Regions from separate parts of the Homo sapiens genome. Here all the other regions are linked to region 1. The links are contacts of gene promoters, found by promoter capture Hi-C in blood cells and fetal thymus (Javierre and others, 2016). All regions are on one chromosome and are shown on one strand. Each heading gives the region's core, a stretch centred on a gene start or on the middle of the fragment in contact. The rest is flanking DNA. Distances are from core to core; before and after follow the strand shown.

Region 1 (3,183 bases), core at 342-2,841:
TTTGAATTTATGTGTGGCTGTGTGTTTTCTCAGGGCTCCAAGTGTTTTATACCTTGGGTCAAATTCTCCCCCTGCGGAGGAAGCTCCTTTCTGGAAGTAAATCAGGCACATTTAGAAGATTCGTTAACTCTTTGGCTCCTGGGGGATTATGGCCAGCATTTTCTCTCTTAGACTTCCCACAGCGAATTCCTGGTTGGGCCAAGCTGATATCTTTGAGCTGACTTCTGTACTCAGGGTTCTTCCAAACAGGAATATGCTTTCTCTGCCTAAGATCTGGGTTCCATGCCCATCTCAACCTCAATCCCTCCTTCAAGGAAGTTTTTCCTAACTCCTCGGCCAGACATCAATAATGTCTGAAGGGAGGATTTCTCCCGAGTGCCAGACTTGGAATTCCTGTTGTCTTCAGGAGCTCTCCCTGGCGCTCCCTCCTTCCCCCAGGGCCTTTAAACTGTTTCTCCTCCAGTCTGCCCACTTGATCCATGTGGGTAGACATGTTCCATGGCCTTCAGAATAAGATCTTTTGTGGGGTACTCAGTCCATAAACAGAAAATTGCCTTCATCTTGGATGCTGGTGTTTCTGGCCTGGTGAGAATGAAAGTGTGGAATTTGTTTGTAGGACTCAAAGTTTCCATTAACAATAAATATGAAAAATATATAATGCAAAGGCTTTTGTTATTGTTATTATTAAAATAGGAAAGCCTTTACCTTTTTGGAAGAACCGATTTAGATTTTGCAGAGTAATTCAGTCTTTAAAAGGTAGTGGTAGTTAAAATAGGTAATCTTTGACTTGTAAAGAGACTAATTTAAATTTTGTTAAGTAACCAATTAAGGCCATAAAGAGTTTAAATCCATCTGTGGCTTCTCATTTTCTCTAGAACAAATTCCTAATTCCCTACGATGAAATTCTCTTGCTATCCTAATTTTTTGCCGGCTCAAAGGACTAACCGTTTTCCCCAAACACGCGGCCCTGAGCCTCCGGTGCTTTGCGAAAGCCGTCCCCTCCGGCTGGAATGTTCTTTGTCTCTCTGGTAAATGTCTATTCATCATTCAAGACCACCCTTCGCCCCTCCCCTTAATTACTTCCTCCCCTGTGCGCCCTCAAATTCTTGTACTCATTCAAGCAGTATTTATTAGGGGCCAGCTTTGTGGCCGGCACCGTGGCGGGCTCTGGGGCTACAAAAGGTGAATAATACTTGGGCTCTGCCTCTGAGGGCCTTACACGTTAGGGAGGAGTGGGTCAACTGCCACAAACGTCGCTAGGAAATTAAAAGGAAAATTTTACAAAGTGGCAGTTCTTGTCTGTCTTCCCCTCCAGATGGCCCGTGTGTTGTTTTCGGGCCGGGGCTATTTCTCATTTATTTCGCACCCCCGGTTCTTAGTGCCCTGTAGGTGCTAAATCAGCATTTGTTTCATGAGTGCTTTTTCTGGGGGCAACCAGACCCCTGCAGAAGTGTACCTGTGTTGTGCCAGAGGTTCTGATGATAGGCTTATAGGCGGTAGTTTCCTCAGTGTCCGTGGGTCGCCCCCGGTCCCGGGTTGGATGCCCCGCGGTCCAGCACCGAACCTTTCGGGGTGCAGAGTTGCAGAGCCGCGGAGGGCCCGGGCCGTGCGCAGCCGAAGGGAGGCCTGCAGCGCCCCCTCTGGATGCAGCGGGCACCGGCCGGCCGCCCCGCTCACCCGCTCGCACCCCACGTTTGTTCACCAGTATTTCAGTTTACGGTCAGAAAATGAACACAGACACTTCGTGATACTCTACACTTTTCAAAGGCGTAAGGGATGCCTTTTAAAGGATTATGGATTAGAAAAATTCCTCCCTCTTTCTTGTGCCTCTGGGCCCTTGCATTGTGATTCTATCTTACGTAAATAAAGGGGGCTTTGCTCTCCTAATTGTGCCCACTGTTCTGTGCAGCGCGGACCGGCGCATGCAGCGAGCGGGGCTGCGAGGGCGCTGCTGTGGCCAGGCGTCTGGCATGCTGACCACGTCGCGCTGCTGTAAAGGAAACCTGCCCCGCGCAGCGGCGGTGGCTGGAGCGGGAGAAACCGGACTTTGTGCAACTTTGGCCATAGTGGCCATCCCATGAATCTGTTTACTAGCTTGGTGGTGGGTCCAACAGAGCTTGTTGCTCCCTAGCCGCTTGCTCGTGCCCTTGGTGGTTACCGGTAGTTAAGCTTAGGGCGCATAGGGCCCTCGTGGCTCGCCACCTCTCACGGTTCAGTACCCACGCTTCGAACGAGGGATGGGAGCAGGCGCCACGGCCGGCACCCCAGAGCCCTGCTGCCCCTTAGTTCGAGCGGCCATCCTCCTGTGGGGCTTGTGGGCAGCCTGTGGGGTTTGTGGGCGGCCTGTGGGGTTTGTGGGTGGTCTAAGGAAAGAGTTGGGGCACTCAGGGGTCTGCTGTTTTTGCCCGTGGCCTTAACTCATCAGGGGAGGGTTTCTGCAGCAGAATCTCGGGCTCAGGGTTGGCGGTTAACGAGGGAGCAGCGGGGTCTTGGGGAGGGGGCTCGACACCCCTGAAGGTGCCCCCTAAAGGAGCCACTGTTAGAGGGGCACCCCATCTTTGTGGCCATGGCGGTGGTAGAGCGGCTGGGAGGGGCTCTGCGGCGAGCAAGGGAGCAGGCGGTAGGGGTTCTGCGGCGATGGGCGGGCTAGGGGCGGGGCGCGGGTGGGCTCTAAAAGTCGGTGCCCACTCGCTCCGCGCTGCCGCGGCAACCAGCACACCCCGGCACCTCCTCTGCGGCAGCTGCGCCTCGCAAGCGCAGTGCCGCAGCGCACGCCGGAGTGGCTGTAGCTGCCCGGCGCGGCGCCGCCCTGCGCGGGCTGTGGGCTGCGGGCTGCGCCCCCGCTGCTGGCCAGCTCTGCACGGCTGCGGGCTCTGCGGCGCCCGGTGCTCTGCAACGCTGCGGCGGGCGGCATGGGATAACGCGGCCATGGTGCGCCGAGATCGCCTCCGCAGGTGAGTGTGCGGTGGGAACGAGGGGGTGTGGCTGGCGGCCCTGGGACTAGGGCGCAGGCGAGCGGAGGACTGTGTGCCCGTGTCCGAGCTGGGGCTGCCTCTGGGCGAAAACTCTACCGACAGGCGGCACGCATTCCGCGCCCGCTCTGCCTACTTGAGGAGGGGGTGTCACTCCTGCCCGCAATGGAATGTTCAGAACGCGGGACCTCCTTGGGTTAGGATTTCTAGA
Region 2 (3,183 bases), core at 188-2,687, 440 kb before region 1:
CTGGATCTGCCATTTGCTAACAGGTTCATCTTGGGCAAGTCATATAACCTGCCCCAAACTGTTTCCTCTTCTGTAAAACAAGTATAATAATAATGCTTATTTTCATAGGTTTAAGGTCAAGATCGAATGTGATAATATATACAAAAACATACTATATACAAGTATTAGTTATTATTTCTTCTTTTCTCAGGCTCTTAGTTTTTTCTTCTGTAAAAAGAAAAGGTTAGATAACCTCAACTGTCCCTCTGAGTGATAACATATTAGGATGCTGACTTTCCTATATAATTTCTTACCAAGGTTTTATTCTTAAGTTTAAAGCATCACAGTAAGTGGTGTAATACCTTGGAGGAATTCTAGAAGCAGGCAGAAAGTGCAATTCACATGAACTAAAAAAGGATATAGAAAATGTTTCCACTCTGCTAAAGAAGGCTTCTTTGCTTGTAGATTCCAATGAAGGTTGTTCCGCTTGGGGTGATCCATTAACTGACTGGGATGTGGCAGACGTGTCCTTCCTAATATAAAGTGGCAAAACTGTTGGTAAACCTTTCACAGTACCCTCTGCTTAAATGTTATCTAGCTTCTCTACACATCGTATCATAAATCACACCAACGCTGGATTTTAAGCTTCCTAAAAATCATTTTACTCATGTCATTCCTCAGCTTATTATTTTCAATGGTTTTATAATACTTACTAAATAAAATCCAAATTTTTCAGTCTGGCATTCAAAACTCTTTACAGTTTACCCATATCTAAACTTCAATTTCTACCTCTACAGGGCTCCACTAATCCTAGCAAACTATTCTCCTCACTCACTCACTGTTCTCCACAAGTATTTGGCATAACTTTAGTAGACAGAAAATAAGACTCAAGACTTCAAGTATGCATTATACAATTTGAATCTCTTCAGAAATTCGACTTTTTTTTTTTTTGAGATGGAGTCTCGCTCTGTTGCCCAGGCTGGAGTGCAACGGTGCGATCTCGGCTCACTGCAACCTCCACCTCCCAGGTTCAAGCAATTCTCCTGCCTCGGCCTCCCCAGTAGCTGGGATTACAGGCGCGTACCACCAGGCGTGGGCCCGGCTAATTTTTTGTATCTTTAGGACAGACGGGGTTTCACCATGTTGGTCAGGCTGGTCTGTAACTCCTGACTTTGTGATTGGCCCACCTCAGCCTCCCAAAGTGCTGGGATTACAGGCGTGAGCCACAGCGCCTGGCAGAAATTCGACTCTTAACAGCAGAAAAAACAATTTTGATATTTCTACCTGGAGGGACCTTTCATACCCACTCCTTCCAAAAAAAAAAGAACCAATTAGAAAATTCGAATCAAAGATCTTCGGGAGATTTCATGAAAAAAAAATCAGGGAGAAAAAAACTCAGCAAAGCAATTCTCTCATTTTCAGTGGAAGGCATTTCAACAGTGCCTGGGGAATTGCTGAAAGACAAGCATTTATTTATTTATTTAGAGACGGAGTCTCACTCTGTCACTCAGGCTGGAGTGCAGTGACGCGATCTCGGCTCACTGCAACCTCCGCCTCCCAGGTTCAACCAATTCTCCTGCCTCAGCCTCCCGAGTAGCTGGGACTACAGGCGCGGGCCACCACGCCCGGCTAATTTTTTGTATTTTTAGTAGAGATGGGGTTTCACCGTGTTAGCCAGGATGGTCTTGATCTCCTGACCTCGTGATCTGCCCGCTTCAGCCTCCTCAAAGTGCTGGGATTATAGGCGTGAGCCACCGCGCCCGGCGACAGGCATTATTTTAATAAAAATAGGATTACATCAACGATTATAGCTCAAAAGAAATAAACTTACTCTAAGACTCTCAGAGATTCATAGAGAGCCTCAAGCGGGTGTGGTTCTAGGCCAAAAAAAATTCACAGCATCCATAAACTTGGATGGGTAAAAATGACATTTATTTCTCTCTAAATGACAAGATTTAGCATTTTCTTCAATTATGAATGAAGGTAAAAACACCATAGTAGTATTAGCAGTACCTGCTAATTTGTCACCAATGGAAATAATGTTCCCACATTATGGTGGTTGCATGTCTTCAAATACCTTTGTGCTCATCACTACTTCAAAATTATGGTTGACAACACATACTACTAGATATTATGGACTCTTTAATAAAAAGCATTGTTACTGCGTAACTTTTTCCTTTTACCATCTTGATAACTACATTCCAATCTAACTGGTTTCCTTTATAATCCTATGTAATTTACTTTAAGCATTTAAAAATATTCTGAGAGTTAATAAGCTTCTCCAGAGAGCCAAAGGGGTCCACGGCACAAAAAAAGGTTAAGAATCCCCAATTAAGAGAAGTCAAGTGAACTCATTCAGTTAACGGTCCTCTTTACTTCCAAAAATAATGTCCGATGACAAAATTTCGGCTGCGGTTGGGAATCTGGTACACCCCGAGGGGAAGATCAAAGCCGATCAAACATAGTAACCAGAGTTTCTTTCAGATTCTAAGAAGCCATCCCCACTGCCCGAGTCGCCGACCGAGGGGAACCTCCCCCAACCCGCCACCCCTTCCCCAAGCCTTCTTCAATCTTCCAACGCCGGACCCAGGGTTAACTCGTGAACTCACGCGTCCACGCCTCCCTCTTCCGGGGCAATCCCCTCATCTATCAGCTGCCGGATTTTCTGGGGGGTCCCTTCTGGGGAGCGAACTACTGCACCCCAATTCTTTTCAACCCCTACGGCAAACGCTTGTCCCTCACAGGGCGCCGCCATCTTGGTCCGCTGCCGAGTTGCTTCCCCGAGAGTTTGAAGGCTCCGGAACTTCCGTCCTGGGAGGTTAATATCCGCCTCTTGAGGCAGCCTGGCTGGGAAAGTCTAACCGCGGGGCCCACGCCTTTTCTCATCATTTTAGAACCTTAGAGCGAGCTTAAGGAGGGCTGTACTGTTTAGGACAATCTTGATTAATCGTTTCCTTTATCAACTAGCATATTTAGGTTGATAAGAGATTTTTAGAACGCTGTCAGTCCAAATTCAGCAGGGATGAGGGGCTCAACTTAATTTTCAAGTAATATTAACTAATACGGCCGGGCGCCGTGGCTCATGCCTGTAATCCCAGCGGTTTGGGAGGCCGAGGTGGGCGGATCGCCTGAGGTCAGGAGTTCGAGACCAGCCTGGCCAACATGGTGAAACCCCATCTCTACCAAAAATACAAAAATTAGCTG
Region 3 (3,183 bases), core at 460-2,959, 410 kb before region 1:
CCATGATTAGCTGGGAAAACAGTTAAACATTGTTGCTAACATGGGAACTGGAAAACTGACAAAGAAAAAGAAGGAAAAATGTAACAGTTGGTAAAGCTGGGTAAAAATAATACTGTAGTCTTAACTTAAAAATTTTAAGTAAGTAATGTGTATAAAATCCAAATGATACAAAAAAGTATATGGTAAAAGGCAAGTTTTTCTTCTTCCTTTGACCCCAGCTAATTGACTGCCTTCCCTAGAAGCAACCAATGATACATTTCCTGTATATTTTTTCCAGGTTCAGGGGGGACGGGAGGGACTTTGTGGAGATGGTAGCATTCCTTTGTTTGGATGGGTATTTAAGATGTTTACAATCTTGCTAATACAAATAGTGATACAATGAATAGCCCTATACATATATAACTTTTGCACATGAGAGAGTCTTTCTTTAGGATAAATTTGTAGAAGTACAGTTTCTGGGTCAAAGGATTTATGTTTACTGCTTAAATTTTGATAGATTCTGTCAAATTTCAAGTTTATGTTTCCCTGTTGTTGTTCGAGTGCTGTCTTCCTTGTTCTTTTGGTAACGGAGTGGGTTATCAAACGTTATTTAAATTGTCAGTTTAATAGGAATAGTTTTCTTAAGTGTCTTTCCAATAGGTAGATAAAAGAGCCATTTATTTGTTTCCTTTATCTATAGATCTGTTTATATTTTTTGTTCATTTTTCTATTGGGATGGTTCATATTGTTTATAAAGGCGGTACCCAACCTTTTTGGCACCAGGGACCAGTTTCGTGGAAGACAATTTTTCCATGGACCGGGATGGTGGGGTGGAGGAGTGGGGGGAATGGTTTCAGGATGAAACTGTTCCACCTCAGGTCATCAGGCACTAGAGACTCAAAAGGAGTGCACAGCCTAGATCCCTTGCATGCACAGTTCACCGTAGAGTTAGCACTCCTATGAGAATCTAATGCTTGATCTGACAGGAGGCCAAGCTCTGGCGGGAATGCTCACTCGCCCACCACTCACCTCCTGCTATGTGGCCAGGTTCCTAACAGGCCATGGACCGGTACCAGGGGTCCATGGCCTGGGGCTTGCGGACCCCTGGTTTATAGGAACTCTGTATTTTAATGAAATCAGTTCTTAGCCATTGACACGTTGCAGATATTTTTCACAGTTTTTCATTTGCGTTTTGACTTTGTTTATGGTCTATTTTTTCATCAGAAATTAAATGTTTTAAATGTTTTGTTGTGAAATTTATCAGTCTTTTCAGAGTCTAGGTTTTGTGTCATAAGAAAGGCCTTTCCTATTTTATTATTATTTCTAATTCAAATTAAATATTCTTGTGTTTTCTCCAGGTACTTCTGTAATTTTATTTTTAAGTTAAATGCACTTACCCACACAAAATGTAAGTTAAATAAAGTGTCGAGGTGGGAATCCAACTATACTTTTCTTCCAGATGGCTGCCCAGTTATGGCAGTGTCCTTCATTTAGTTCAGCTTTGCCCTGCTGATTGAAATGTTGTCTATAGGTGTACTTAGTTCCTACAGTTTGAGGTTATTACTGGACTTTTATTCTGTTTCATTGATCAGATTACCTATTTATACCTAATGACTCTATTCCTTGGTTATCATCTTCCCTCATTCTACTTCCCAGAGTTTTCCTGGGAAGTTTTCTTTGTTTATTTTTCTATATGGCTTAGAATTAGCTAACCAAGTCCTGCTCCTCTGTCCTGTTGGCATTTTTATTGGTATTGTATTATATTTATAGATTAATTTAGAGATAATTGACATCGTTTTGAGGTTCAAAAACAGGGTCTATATTCATTTCTTTATGTTCAAGAACAGTATATGTGGCCAGGCATGGGGGCTCACGCCTTTAATCCCAACACTTTGGGATGCTGAGGCAGGCGGATCACTTGAGGCCAGGAGCTTGAGACCAGTCTGACCAACATGGGGAAACCCCATCTCTGCTAAAAATATAAAACTTAGCCGTTCTTGGTGGCAGGTGCCTGTAATCCCAGCTACTCGGGAGGCTGAGGCAGGAGAATTGTTGAACCTGGGAGGCAGAGGTTGCAGTGAGCCAAGATTGTGCCACTGCACTCCAGCCTGGGTGACTGAACAAGACTCTGTCTCAAAAAAAAAAAAAAAAAAAAAAAAAAAAACAGTATATGTATTTATTGTCATTCAAGTATTGTTTTGTATCTATCAACATTAAAAAGTTGTTTATTTTTTTATATAGGCCTCACATTTCTTATTATGTTTATTCCTTGGTGTTTATCTTGTTTGTTGCTATTGTAAATGGGGTTTCTACTACTTTCTTTTTTCTTTTTCTTTCTTTTTTTTTTTTTTTTTTGAGACGGAGTCTTGCTCTGTCGCCCAGGCTGGAGTGCAGTGGCACCATCTTGGCTCACTGCAAGCTCCGCCTCCCGGGTTCACGCCATTCTCCTGCCTCAGCCTCCCAAGTAGCTGGGACTACAGGCACCTGCTACCACGCCCAGCTAATTTTTTGTAGTTTTAGTAGAGATGGGGTTTCACCATGTTAGCCAGGATGGTCTCGATCTCCTGACCTCGTGATCCACCGGCCTCGGCCTCCCAAAGTGCTGAGATTACAGACGAGAGCCACCGCGCCCGGCCGGGGTTTCTACTTTCTTTTATAACTTTTATGTGGTTGTTTGAATATGAGAATGCTATTAAATTTTGAGTATTAATTTTATACCTAGCCACGTTAAGAATTCTAATATTATCTATAATAGTTTCCCAGTTGTTTTTCTAGAGAATAACAGGTATAGCTAAATAATCATATCATTACTGAATAATGATAATTTTATCTTCTCCTTTTCATTTTTTTTTCTTTTTTTTTAAATAGGCCTGGCGTGTTGGCTCATGCCTGTAATCCCAGCACTTTAGGAGGCTGAGGCGGGCGGATCACTTGAGGGCAGGAGTTTGAGACCAGCTTGGCCAATATGGTGAAACCCCGTCTCTACTGAAAACACACACAAAAAAATTAGCCGGATGTGGTAGTGCATGCCTATAGTCCCAGCTGCTCAGGAGGCTGAGGCAGGAGAATCGCTTGAACCCTGGAGGCGGAGGTTGCAGTCAGCAAAGATTGCGCTATTGCACTTCAGCCTGGGTGACAGAGCAAGACTCCGTCTCCAAAAATAAAAAATAAATAAAAATAAAATAAAATAGAGATGGAGTCTTG
Region 4 (3,183 bases), core at 172-2,671, 390 kb before region 1:
CTTACCATTCATTAAGTGGAAGTGGATCATCATAAAGGTCTTCATCCTTACTGTCTTTACATTGAGAAAGCTGAGGAGGAAGAGGAAAAGGAGGAGTTGGGCTTGCTGTCTCAGGAGTGGCAGAGGCAGAGGAAAATCTGCATATAAATAGACTTGTGCAGTTCAAATTCATTTTGTTCAAGGGTCAACTGTATAACATTCTGTAACTAAAATTAAATTGAGAGTTGTACTAAAGGTCCTAGAATTTTTTGTTTTAAAATTTACAGGTGTAGTATTATCTACTTACTAAAAGAAAAATTCAAATAATACAGAAATACATAGGGGGAAAAGTCAGGATCCTTACTGCAAGCATATATAACATTTCTACAAATCAATTTCAAAAAAGACAGTTCAATGAGAGAATGTATGTAAGAGGCTTAAGCAGGTGTTCTTAATCTGTTCTTGCACTGGTATAAATAAATACCTGAGACTGGGTACTTTATAAAGAAGAGGTTTAATTGACTCACGGTTCTGCAGGCTGTATAGGAAGCATGGTAGCATCTGCTTCTGGAGAGGCCTCAGAAAGCTTTTACTCATGGCAAGAGGCAGAGTGGGAGCAGGTGTCTTACATGGCAGGAGCAGGACCAAGAGGAGTTGAGGGGAGGTGCTATGCACTTTTAAACAACCAGATCTTGTGAGAACTCATCACTATACAGTACCAAGGAGGTATGGTGCTAAAGCATTCATGAGAACTTCGTCCCCGTGATCCAGTCACCTCCCACCATGCCCCATCTCCAACACTGGGGATTACAATTGAACATGAGATTTGGGCGGGGACACAGATCCAAACCATATCAGCAGGCATTTCCCAAAAGAAAAATTCAAATGGCCAATAAACATGAAAAGGCGCTCACCCTCATTGCAATGAGAGAAATGAATAGTAAAACCACGAGAGCTCTACAAACTCACAGGAATTGCTACATTAAAAAGACTGACAGTGGCAATACCAAGTATTGGCAAGGATATGGAACAACAGGAATTCTCACATGCTGCCCTTGGATATGTAAAGTGGTACAACCATTTTGAAAACATTTTGGCTTTACCAAACGAAGGTGAAGATTTACATACATTAAGATTCAGAAATTCCATGTTTACATTTATAGCCAACAGAAATGTGAGCCCCTGTGCACTTGCAACATGTGCAAAAATGTTTGTAGCAACATTAAGAACCACAAATTTGAAACAACCCAAAATGCCTCTTCACGCAACTTAGACTGGATAAATAAATTGTGACATATATTCATACAAATAAATAATATTTGGCAAGGGAAATGAACAGACCACTTCTTTTCCCCTAGAACAGGGATGAATCTCAAAAACATAATTGTGAATAAAAGAGCCCAGAAAGAAAATATACTATATTATTCTACATATATTATTCTATTCAAATACACTTTAAAACTAGGCCAAAATAAACAGTATTGTTTAGAGATGCATACCTAGGTATAATAAAGCTATAAAAAGACAACAGATTTTTATGATTGCCCTAAAAATCAGGAAGTAGGATACTCTAGAAGTGAAGGGAGGTTGGAGGGTGTGATCAAGATGGGCAGTCAAAGGGTTTCTGGGTGCTGGCTGTATTCTGTTTCTTGACCTGGGTGATGGTTATATGTTCCTATTTTAATAATTTATTAAGCACTTTATGCAGTATTGTGTTTCTTGAGCTGGATGGTGGTTACGTGTTCTCTTTTTAATAATTTGTACATTTAAGGCCGGGCGCGGTGGCTCACGCCTGTAATCCCAGCACTTTGGGAAGCCAAGGTGGGTGGATCACCTGAGTTCAGGAGTTTGAGAGTAGCCTGACCAACATGGTGAAATCCTACCTCTACTAAAAATACAAAATTAGCTGGGCATGGTGGTGCATGCCTGTAATCCTGGCTACTCGGGAGACTGAGACAGGAGAATCGCTTGAACCTGGGAGGCGGAGGCAGTGAGCCAAGATCACGCCGTTGCACTCCAGCCTGGGCAACAAGAGCAAAACTCCGTCTCAAAATAAATAAATAAAATAAATAATAATCTGTACATTTATATTTATGTAAATTCTAATGCATGCCATATTTAACAATAAAAGGAGTTAAATTTAAAAAGCAAAGATCCTGCCTCACATCTTCACTCAACCACCATTAACAGGCGAGTCTTTCCAGATGTGGTTCTTTCTGAAGAGTGTTAAAAAATAAAAGTTTGTTTTTCAGCAAGTGTTAGGGGTAATAAGATACAGATCTTTGTAGGGGAAAAAAGAAAGCTTATTTCAATAAAATCAGAAAAGTGGGAAAATAAAGCGAGAAAGAGCGGTAAATAAAAAATACATAAGATTGCAGGGACAAATCTAAATAAGAAATCAAGATCAAATGGACCTTATCTGTGGAATGTATTTAGTTTACTATTTTAATAGGCTTAAAGAAAAATTGTGACTTTGCTGTATTAAATAAAACATTTAATAAAATTTGATATTTAATGTGTTCATTTTGTTACAATGCATCCAGTACCCTTATGACATATATGCTTTTCTGTATGTTACATTTGAATACAAACTTTGTGTTGGGCGCACAGTGGCTCATGCCTGTAATCCCAGCGCTTTGGGAGGCTGAGGTGGGAGGATCTCTTGAGCCCAAGAGTTGGAGACCAGCCTGGGCAACACTCTGTCTCTAAGAAAAAATTCAAAAATTAGCCGGGCGTGGTGGCACACACCTGTGGTCCCAGCTACTTGGGAGGCTGAGATGAGAGGATTGCTTGAACCTGGGAGGTCAAGGCTGCAGTGAGCAGTGATTACACTGCTACGTTCCAGCCTGGGCAATAGAGCAAGACCCTGTCTCAAAAATAAATAAACAAATAAACCCCACATCCATTCCTGGTAAGGGAAAACATTCTTACGCATCCAGGGATAAAAGAAGATTTATTTTATGACAGAATACTATAAGAAACCAGTAGTAAATATCATATATGATGTATCATTTATTGATAAGAAACCAATAGCAAACATAATACATAACGGCATAACCTTACCAGTGTCCTCATTAAAGTAAAAAAAACGAGACAAAGATGTCCACTGTCATCTCCACTATTCAACCTTGTTCTGGAGTTTTCAGCCAATACAGTAGAAGACCAGGAAAAAGAAAAAAGAAGTACACATATTGGAAAAGAAGA
Region 5 (3,183 bases), core at 425-2,924, 350 kb before region 1:
AAGAATGGAAGAGAGGGAGGAGGTTTTTAAAAAATACACACTCTGTCAAGTTTTAGGTGTGGGGTTTTTGTTTGTTTTATTTGAGACAGGCTGTGCTGCCCAGGCTGAAGTGCAGTGGCTCGATCACAGTTCCCGGACTCAAGTGATCCTCTTCCCTCAGCCTCTCAAGTAGCTTGGACCACAGGCATGTACCACCACACCTGGCTTAGCTGTGATTTTATCCTGTTGCCCAAAGCCTATTCCTTACCATCCTGTCCATTCATAAAATCAAGCAAGAACATTATTGTAGAGCAGAGGTTTTTTCTTTCATCCACAGCCAGGTGAGAGGAGGTAGTTTTGAGTGACATACAAAGCCAACCCAGCCAATCTGCTCACCCTACACTGGCCTTGCAGCCTCAAATGCAAAAGCAAGAGGCTTCTCAGATTCTCCAGCAGACAGCTCAGCAGGGGAGCTCAGCAGCCCATGCAGGAAGGTAGGTGCCAAACACCACTCAGGGAGGTCAGGAGCCACCACAGCCCAGCTCCAGGACTTGGGAAGAGAAGGCAGAGACAGCTGGGAGCTCTGGCCACTTACTATTTGGGGGCCCCACAGCAGGCCAGGAGCTTTAGAGTATTGCAGATGACATCCATGAAAAGAGAAAGCAGCTGCCATGCAGCCTGTGTCACCTTAGAGGAGTCAGACTGGTCAGTTTATCCTCCTTGAACCTGCCACTTAGAACCGCAAGGTTCTGGGAGTGGAGGAGGCTCTCACCATGACTGCCTAGGATGTGTTCAAAATCCCCACCCCACTGTCAGGGAGCAAACTTTGTTACTCTCCCAGCCCCAGAAAAATACATCCAGGCCATCCAGGCATCTCCTGCACCTGGGTTATTTACTACCCAAACCTCACCCTGAAACAGCTAAGATCAGGTCATGGTTCGGGATGTCGGCCTCTGCCTGGGCTCACCCTGCACTGCACAGGCTTGCTGCCCACAAAGACGCGGTTTATAAGAACAATAGGCACAGGGGTGTCTCAGAGCTACTTGCATACTAGGGCATCCAGGACGAGAACTCCAGCTTTACACTGGATCTAACCCCGGACCCCAAACACACACACTAACCCAGAGCCCAGCCTCTGCAGCCCCTGCCATGTCAGCCAAGCATTTTCAGTTCATTTTCTCCTCGGCAAGCCTGTATTGAATCGCAGGCCTAGAAGTTTTATCCCCGTTTCACAGATTGGCAGGCCAAGACAAGACAAATTCAGTGATTTGCCAAGGGCCAGAGAAGGGAGTCCAAGTCTGCAAGCTTGCAAGGTCGCGTTCATGAGAACTTTCATCCTCCTGGGACCCGGCGGCAGGCACATGGGCCTGGATAGTTACTGAGAAAATTCTTTCAGAAGGGCTTTCGGGGACGTGAAGTCACCCCTGGCTTCCCGGGATTCTGGGTTGGGAGCAGCCGCGCAGGGGCGGTGAAGCCAGGGGCCAGGGCGGTCCGTGCTGCGGGCGGCTCCCCAAGGCCCGGTGCGCTGGGCTACCCGCCCGCTGGCCATGGACTTGCCGCCTGCAGCGCACATGGCTGGGGAGGAAGAGCCGTGGATTTCAGTCTGTACACCCAGACGACTAAGAAGCTGCCGCCCGCTAGCGGGGAGGGGACTCGGCCGGGAGGTGGCCCCCGCAGCCCGGCGCCGCCGCGCGTCCCATCCTCGAGGCCACCGTCGCTCACCGAACATCTGGCACGTGCCATTGGTGCTGGGGTGCTGCGTGAGCGGGCCCTGCCTTCGGGAAGTTTCCATTGGGGAGGAGGCGATCGATCAGACCACAGCAAACGAGCAAGATGACCACAGTGGCCCATGGAGGGGGAATAGGAGCTGTGTGGCGTAGAAACAAGGAAAGCCTCCCGCCCGGTGTGCACGGGGAGCTAGAAAGTGTGACCAGAGTGTTCGGGGCAGGGACAAAACCCAGCTTCTGGTGTCTTCTGCAAGGGGAAGAAGCCTTGCGGTGGGAGCCAGGGGAATCCCCGCGAAGAGGCGGCCCCGCACCTATCCCGGGGCTGGGACGAAGGGTTTGGCTTCTCTAAACGCAGCGGGAAGCTTTAAGCCAGAGCCACACAGAGCATCCCTGTCGCAGGAGAGTGCCCGGGGGTCCCAGGAGGGCGAAAGCACCTTTGGGGCCGAGACACTTCTGCTCCCATCACCCCCGCCCCAGCAGGGCGCCCCTGTGCGGGGAACAGCCAGCAATCAGGGACAGCGCCCCAGGCCCCGCTGCGCCAGCACTGGCAGGAGGGACGCATGGAGGCCGGACGGAACTGGGGAGGGGGTGCTGGCCAGGGTGGGCTCAGGCCCTCCCCACTAAGGCCAGCTCGGCCCAGGGCCTCCCTGCGCAGCCCAGCGCGCCTTGTCGGAGAGGCTCCTAGGACCGGAGGGGAAGCCGCTCTGAACCGGAATGATCTGGTTTGGAGCGGGTTGGCTCCCTCCCTGCTCCCCCGCCCACTGCTCTCCCTCTCCTCCAGCGACGGGCTGGTTTTTGCCGCAGTCCCTGACCAAGGTAAACAGGAGGGAAGAGGAAAGAAGGCTGTTTCCATGGCAACCCAGGGGATAGGCGCTGTGGCTCTCCGGGATATGCGGGGGTGACTTCAGGGAGAAGAAAAGGCTCCCCGGAAAAGCCACAGGGAGGAAGGACCCTCCCATGCACACGGTGGGGTGCGTTCAGAAGTGGGGGGATGGAGGGAAAAGGAGAGGGGTCAGGCACCCTCGGTGAAGTGGAGAATTGAGCAGGGGCCTGGGGACACAGAGACACATAAGGGCCAGGGGTCATACCGAAAATGCAAGCACACAGGCTCTTCTGGCCACTCAACCCAGGGAGCAGAAAACAGAGGTGCCAGAGCTCTCAGAGATTCCGAAATCCACACCTCTCTGGTCCTTTCCAGAAAACCCTTCCAGGGGGCAGCTCAGCCTGGGGACAACCACAGAAGTGGGACCTGGGCCCAAAGACAGGTGTCACCTGAAACAGGCCACTGTTGTCCGCCTGCAGTATGCTGGGAGGACCAGCTCCCGCTCCACCCTGCTCCCCCTGGGAGGAAGGCTGACCCCTGCGTGGGAGTGTGACTGCTGGAAAGGCATCCTTGCTGCAGCTGTGAGTGTGATGGGACAGCAGAGTCACTCCTGCATGGGATTCTAGGGCTGGGGGTCCCAGAGGGGTGGCCTCC
Region 6 (3,183 bases), core at 452-2,951, 340 kb after region 1:
CTTGTAATACATGGGTTTCTATTTACATGTATTGAAATGAGTGACAGGTTTGGTTCAATAGCTATTTTAATGTTATATTTACTTTGTTTTGTTTTACTTAATATGTCTCTTTAGTCTGTTTTCGTTGCTCTTTAAACATTTTGTTTTGATGTTTAGAAACATTTGAACATGTGTTCTTGCAGTCACCTTCCAGTCTTCACATGTCATTCTCACTGTGTGCATGTCTGTGTCCAGGTTTCCCCAAAGGACATTAGTCATATTGGATTAGGGACCACTCTAGCCCAGTATGGTCTCGTCTCAACTAACTATATCTGCATGACCTTATTTCCAAGTAAGGTCACATCCTGAGGTGCTGCAGGTTGGGACTTCAGCATATGAATGTTGGGGGGACACCATTCAACACGTAACTGCCTCCATCTTTATATCCATCATGGTTGCCTCAAACCCTGTCTTTTGATTCCTTAAGCTTCTAAGGCTGTGGGTTTCTACCCAAGATTTAGTAAACTCTCTGAGGAGAACTGTGGGCTGCCTGCGCTCAGGCTAAAAGCCATTAACATGGAAAGTTTACACAGTGCTATTCTTATCTTCTGCCAAGTGCCAATCCTCTCTCCCTTTCTGCTTCCTTTTGGTTGTTCTCCAGGGCCATCAAGTAGTTCGTTTTTATATTTGGAATGGAATGATGGTCATTATTTGCAAGAGAATTGGCCCAAAGCAGCTCTTCCACTATTACTGCAAGACTCTCATTTTATTTCTTCCTGGGGTTTTGTTTGCTGTTTTTTTTTTGTTTTGTTTTGTCTGTTCCTGTTCTGGGTTTTTTAATGTATCATTCTAGGTGTTTCTTTCAGATCTGCAAATGGTAAAAAATGTTACATTCAGGTTGGTAGCGTCCATCAGTTTCTTCTTCATTTTGTGAAAGGGAATTTTTATTAGTTGAGGTGTTTGATTTTTATTTTACATTCCCTTTATACAGAGACTTCATTTGGATGTTGTCTACCCTTTCCCATTCATCTGGAAATGTCCCATCTTTTTCCTGGACCAGCAATATCTGGCAAGGGTAAAGATTTTAGTTGGCAGACTATATTTCACAGTTCAAGGGCACCCTCTGCTGTTGACTTAAGAGAATTGCAGTTTCATTAATGTTACAGTTTTGGTGGGGTATTTTTTTTTTTAATTTTGTTCTAGTGGAACTTTTAATTTTCAAAAATATATTTATCTTCCTCAGATGTGAATCATGTTTTTTGTTTCTTGATCTCTGCGGTTTTTTCAAGTACGCGTATTCATTTTGTGAAAATTCAATGAGCTCTACACTTTATATGTGCGTATTATATTTCAATAAAAAGCTAAAAATAAACTTGTCAGTAATTAATGCCTAATGAATGAAACACAGAATTATATTTGATAAAATTATCTTCTACCCTCCGACTTTGTTATGCCCTACCTGTTATTTTTGTACATTTGTTACTCTAAAAATTATATTTTGTACACATGCCCAAAAGGTATGTTTTGTAAGTACACTTAAAGGTATCTTAAAATTACTTGTTTTTGAATCATTTGATACTTACCACCAGTCTTTTCAAAGTGTTTTTATCATTCATGAATTCTTTATCTTGATTCTTCTTACAGGTAGCTGAAATACAACATCATAATTTTTACTGGAAAATAGCCACAATGAAGGAACACCACAATTTCACCATGAAAACCAGCACAACCTTACACAGATGACAAACATTTCCCCTCAAAACTTGTTAAACTGTATTTGGGCTGACCAAATTAACCAGAGTTATTCTATTTATGGGGGAGCAGGAAGTAACTTGATAAAATGCTTTGAGTTTATATATCATGTCAAATAAATAGCATAATTTTAAAGGAAAAAAACTTGTTAGGCAATGTTCTCTTATTTTCTGACATCACATATTGTGACAGAATGTAAGGCCAACCTGGTTTTTACAAATTCCGTGGTCTAATTTTTTTGTTGTTGTTAGTGTATAAAAATAGCATTGACTTAAAATTTTTTAAATTTCTTTTATTTAGTTAATTAATTTATTTTGAGACAGAGTCTCGCTCTGTCACCCAGGCTGGAGTACAGTGGCACAATCTCGACGGACTGCAATCTCCGCTTCCTGGATTCAAGCGATTCTCCTTCCTCAGCCTCCCGAGTAGCTGGGACTATAGGCGTGTGCTACCACGCCTGGCTAATTTTTGTATTTTTAGTAGAGAGGGGATTTCACCATTTTGGTCAGGCTGGTCTCAAACTCCTGACCACAGGTGATCTGGCTGCCTCATCCTCCCAAAGTGCTGGGATTACAGGCCTGAGCCACCGCACTCAGCTGAGTTTTTTTTTAATGAATGTACTCCTGGTTGTTTTTTTGTTGTTGTTGAGACAGAGTCTCGCTTTGTCGCCCAGGCTGGAGTGCAGTGGCGCGATCTCGGCTCACTGCAAGCTCCGCCTCCCAGGTTTACGCCATTCTCCTGCCTCAGCCTCCTGAGTAGCTGGGACTACAGGTGCCCGCCACCACGCCCAGCTCATTTTTTGTATTTTTAGTAGAGACGGGGTTTCACCGTGTTAACCAGGGTGGTCTCGATCTCCTGACCTCGTGATCCGCCCGCCTTGGCCTCCCAAAGTGCTGAGATTACAGGCATGAGCCACTGCGCCCAGCTCCTGGTTGTTTTTTTACTCTTCTCTTGACATACTTCTCACACACTGCAGTCTGTTGCATAAAAGGAATTACATGGTTTTGAATTACAGATAAAGATGGACATTGTCTATGTGGTAAATACGTGGTAGTTTCTGGGTGTCTTTTTATATGCTTCATATGAAAAATGATCGTACGTAAAACTGTCTCTTTCAGAAGGAACATAATCTGGACCATTCAGATACACCGAAATTCAGCTGTTTTCTACATCATCTGTGTGGGTGTAGCTAAAATATGAGCTTTTAAGCTTAAAAACAACTTCTGCATGTTATTTGGAAATATTTTTTACTGAATTTCTCAACCACCCCAAAACTTAAAGGGCAAATTTAAAATATGCATTTAATGCCTTAGTATTTTAGAGTATAGCCTTCAACAAAGTCCTTTGAGCCTCACTGTAAAAAATATTGACTTTTTATTATAAGTCTTGTGTCCCATGTCCTTGCTAATTCATTATTTCTAATCGTCCATCTGTTGATTCTTTTTAATTTTC
Region 7 (3,183 bases), core at 406-2,905, 320 kb before region 1:
TTTTTTTTTGGTACAAGAATCAGGTAGATGATTCTCATTTGGGGGTTACAATGAAAAAAAGACTCAAAATCTATTTCATTAAGGGGAATGGCACTATTTTGAGTCAATAAAAATCCGAAGGGTTGCAGTTTTGTAGTCAACTGAAATTTCTGAAAAGCGATATAAAATTAAAGGCAATGTCTCGATATAGAAGATACGGGACATATTTTTACAATTACATTTCATAACAGCTACATTTTCTGTTAAATCTAAAGAGTCTGTAACATACACCCATGTGTATTTTATTTCAGAAGAGTCAGTGGCTCAGAGATGTTTAGTTTCGACTTCTGGTTCAGTGAAATAGTCTAAATGTCAGAATTAAATATATGACTTGCTACTCGCCAAAGATCCACAATATATTCACACCAGATAGACCAAGATTAACTCTCCTATAAAGAGAAAAAAAATTTTTATTAGAATTGGTTGCCAAGCATTTAAGGTCTTTTTCTAATAACAAAAAACTTTATGAATAATACATGTTTAACTGATATTTAATGTGATTCTGCAATGAATTATGTTATACATGGTTTATCAGGTGAATTCCAGTAACAGTAATTACTTTCTTAACTATGCCTAAAACCCAAATTTAGAATAAATAGATTTATGGAGTGTTGACAGTTTTTCAGTAAACAAGAACTATTACACCAGGTAATAGCTAACAGAATAATTTTAACAAGCAAGATTAAAGTAAAAGTATCAATTGTATTTAAAAGATGGAAGATATGGAGATGCTAGCCTCTCAGAGAACTGTATTACTTGATTTGAATTAGGAATTTACTAACTACTGGGGATACTTTAGTGAGTTTTCATATGTGTATTAGTAATACATTAAATCCTACTACATATAACAACAACAACAAAATACATATACTTCTCTTCCAGAGAGTAGTATGACTGTATTCAAAGTCTGAGGGAATAAGAGGGCTATAAGAGAAAGAAATTACTCACCTAACAAAATAAAAAAATCAACAGATAATATCTGAAACTGAAGAATCAAGAGAGCTGTATACCTCTATTATTTGGAACTATGAGAGTAATAACTGAAGAAAAAGCCACTTGGGGAATACAGTCCACTTCGAGAAGCAGACTTGGGGAATACAGGGAATTGCTCATTTCTGTCATGAACTTTTAGCCCTCTATGACTTTTAAAATTATAAGAATGTATTAACTTTGATAAAAAGCTGCCAAAAATGCCTTTCGAAACAGGTAATTTTTATCAACTGTATTTTCCATTTCTTCATACCCTCACTGACACTACAAATAATATCAAATTTGACAGAAAAAAAAGTTAATTTTGACTTGTTTGTACATGAGTCTAAGCATCTTTTTGTGTTTAGGAGCTGTTTGCACACTTTATGAAGAAATCTTTCATACCTTTGTCCATTTTTCTAATAAAATCATATATGTTCTTTATATATAACAAATATAAGCTTGGATTTGCTATATTTGCAAACCCAATTACTACTGCTCATATTATAGCAGAATAATGCTTTCAGTTTGTCATTAACTTTAAACTTTACAGTGTCTTTTCCCAAACAGAACATGTAAGTCACTGTGCAGTCAAGTCTGTCTAGATTTTTTTTCCTTTTGCAAGTAGAACATTCATCTGATTCCTGTTACTGCACAAATACCTGACATTAAATTGATAATGTATTTGGATCAATCTGTGGGTTTATGGTCATAAATCCAAATGGACTATATTTGAGCCACTCACTTATTTCTTTTAAGTTATAGGAAAGTTTTTAACTATTTGTTTTAGGATGTATTTGAAAAAATATTCATGTTCGAAAGGTTAATAATTTCCAAGCTTTTCCCCGAGTTTAAAAACACTAGTTTTAGTCTAAAATGCTTAATTTCCCATATATAAGTTGCTCATTAAGAGAATATAGCGCTTTAAAAATTGTATCAATTTCTTTTGGCCTTTCAGTAAATTTCATTACATTTCAGTAAATGAAAAAGTGCTGCTCCACTAAGCACTTTTTCATTTTAAAGCATATGACAGACCGTATATGGCACTCAAACCTCATGCTATCATGACAAACCATTTATGCATCAAAATATCAATTTGGATCCACAGAGGAAAAGATACATTTTCAATTAGAACCAAAAATTAATTGCTTATTTATATTATACAGGTTAAGCACCTATAATCTGAAAATCCGAAATGCTCCAAAACCCAAAACTTTTTGAGTGACATCATGATGCTCAAAGGAAATGCTCACTGTAGCATTTGGGGGATTTTTAGATTAGGGATGCTCAGTAATTATTGCAAATATTCCAAAATCGGAGAAAATCAAATCCGAAACACTCCTGGTTCCAAGCATTTCAGATAAAGAATACTTGACCTGTATTAACAACATGGAATAATAACAATATGGAATTTATATCAAATTCCATATTCCATCTAATATATATGTGTAAGTATATTTATAACCAAACATTCCTAGACATTTTAGGGAAAATTTGACATGGGAGAATGTCCAAGATATGCCATAAGCCTAAAAATTAGATCATAAAGTACTATGTTTGGATACAATACATTTTTAAGCAAAAGAAACAAAAATAAAGCCAGGTGGAGTGGCTTATGCCTGTAATCCCAGCACGTTAGAAGGCCAAGGCAGGTAGATCACAGCCTGGGCAATATAGTGAGATACTGTCTCTACACATAATTAGAAATTAGTTCTAGTTTATACACTGCTGTGTTATTTAAATACTTATCTACTGAGTATGCATTATTTTCATAATTTAAAAATAAAAAACCCTGTTAGTTTAGATGCCTCAATAAAGTTAGTTTCCTAATCTTTCTTACATTAAAAAATATATGATAAAAGAAGCTAATAGCTGGGTGTGGTGGCTCACACCTGTAATTACAGCACTTTGGGAGGCCGGGCAGGCGGATCACCTGAGATCAGGAGTTTGAGACCAGCCTGGCCAACATGGAGAAACCCCGTCTCTACCAAAAATACCCGGCATGGTGGCGGGCATCTGTAGTTCCAGCTACTTGGGAGGCAGAGGTTGCAGTGAGCTGAGATGGTGCCACTGTACTCCGGCCTAGGTGACAGAGCGAGACTCCATCTCAAAAAAAAAAAAAAAAAAAGCTAATAAATGTTCATATTTGTTTACACATTTTTGTTCATGTCTGTT

Evidence for each region. Contacts are between HindIII fragments. The CHiCAGO score rates a contact against its expected background, and 5 or more counts as called.
Region 2: a fragment that was not itself captured here is called in contact with the fragment with the promoter of MESTIT1 in region 1 in 1 of 17 cell types (megakaryocytes); the score reaches 5.5 in megakaryocytes.
Region 3: a contact is called between a fragment that was not itself captured here and the fragment with the promoter of MESTIT1 in region 1, in 4 of 17 cell types (megakaryocytes, erythroblasts, fetal thymus and 1 more). The highest score is 10.2, in megakaryocytes.
Region 4: a fragment that was not itself captured here is called in contact with the fragment with the promoter of MESTIT1 in region 1 in 1 of 17 cell types (megakaryocytes); the score reaches 5.0 in megakaryocytes.
Region 5: a contact is called between a fragment that was not itself captured here and the fragment with the promoter of MESTIT1 in region 1, in 1 of 17 cell types (megakaryocytes). The highest score is 5.1, in megakaryocytes.
Region 6: a fragment that was not itself captured here is called in contact with the fragment with the promoter of MESTIT1 in region 1 in 2 of 17 cell types (endothelial precursors and total B cells); the score reaches 5.6 in endothelial precursors.
Region 7: a contact is called between a fragment that was not itself captured here and the fragment with the promoter of MESTIT1 in region 1, in 1 of 17 cell types (megakaryocytes). The highest score is 7.3, in megakaryocytes.

Annotation. Positions count from the first base shown.
Region 1 is chr7:130,489,386-130,492,568 of GRCh38, forward strand. MESTIT1 (MEST intronic transcript 1, antisense RNA) reads right to left here and starts at 1,592. Exons shown (of 2, transcript NR_004382.2): 1 at 1,457-1,592; 2 at 1-582. MEST (mesoderm specific transcript) reads left to right here and starts at 2,700. Exons shown (of 12, transcript NM_002402.4): 1 at 2,700-2,954. The coding sequence starts at 2,929. RefSeq lists a silencer at 1,528-1,737. The HindIII fragment of the contact is 7,997 bases long and covers 1-2,167 here.
Region 2 is chr7:130,048,633-130,051,815 of GRCh38, forward strand. It overlaps ZC3HC1 (zinc finger C3HC-type containing 1), which reads right to left and starts at 2,742. Exons shown (of 10, transcript NM_016478.5): 1 at 2,589-2,742; 2 at 401-512. The coding sequence starts at 2,734. RefSeq lists enhancers at 2,076-2,868, 2,496-2,805, 2,866-3,055. The HindIII fragment of the contact is 1,631 bases long and covers 623-2,253 here.
Region 3 is chr7:130,075,240-130,078,422 of GRCh38, forward strand. All of the region lies in intron 1 of KLHDC10 (kelch domain containing 10), which reads left to right. Among named protein-coding and RNA genes, the nearest start is that of KLHDC10, 6.3 kb to the left of the region's middle. The HindIII fragment of the contact is 5,502 bases long and covers 1-3,183 here.
Region 4 is chr7:130,104,119-130,107,301 of GRCh38, forward strand. All of the region lies in intron 2 of KLHDC10 (kelch domain containing 10), which reads left to right. Among named protein-coding and RNA genes, the nearest start is that of KLHDC10, 35 kb to the left of the region's middle. The HindIII fragment of the contact is 1,716 bases long and covers 564-2,279 here.
Region 5 is chr7:130,139,251-130,142,433 of GRCh38, forward strand. LINC03008 (long intergenic non-protein coding RNA 3008) reads left to right here and starts at 2,481. Exons shown (of 2, transcript NR_149034.1): 1 at 2,481-2,522; 2 at 3,009-3,183. RefSeq lists enhancers at 1,715-2,378, 1,791-1,870, 2,051-2,190, 2,379-3,042. The HindIII fragment of the contact is 784 bases long and covers 1,283-2,066 here.
Region 6 is chr7:130,830,959-130,834,141 of GRCh38, forward strand. All of the region lies in intron 3 of LOC105375508 (a long non-coding RNA gene), which reads left to right. It overlaps LOC105375509 (a long non-coding RNA gene), which reads right to left and starts at 1,780. Exons shown (of 3, transcript XR_007060528.1): 1 at 1,710-1,780; 2 at 1,563-1,627. The HindIII fragment of the contact is 2,474 bases long and covers 465-2,938 here.
Region 7 is chr7:130,166,078-130,169,260 of GRCh38, forward strand. TMEM209 (transmembrane protein 209) reads right to left here. Exons shown (of 15, transcript NM_032842.4): 15 at 1-428. The coding sequence ends at 374. Among named protein-coding and RNA genes, the nearest start is that of LINC03008, 26 kb to the left of the region's middle. The HindIII fragment of the contact is 377 bases long and covers 1,468-1,844 here.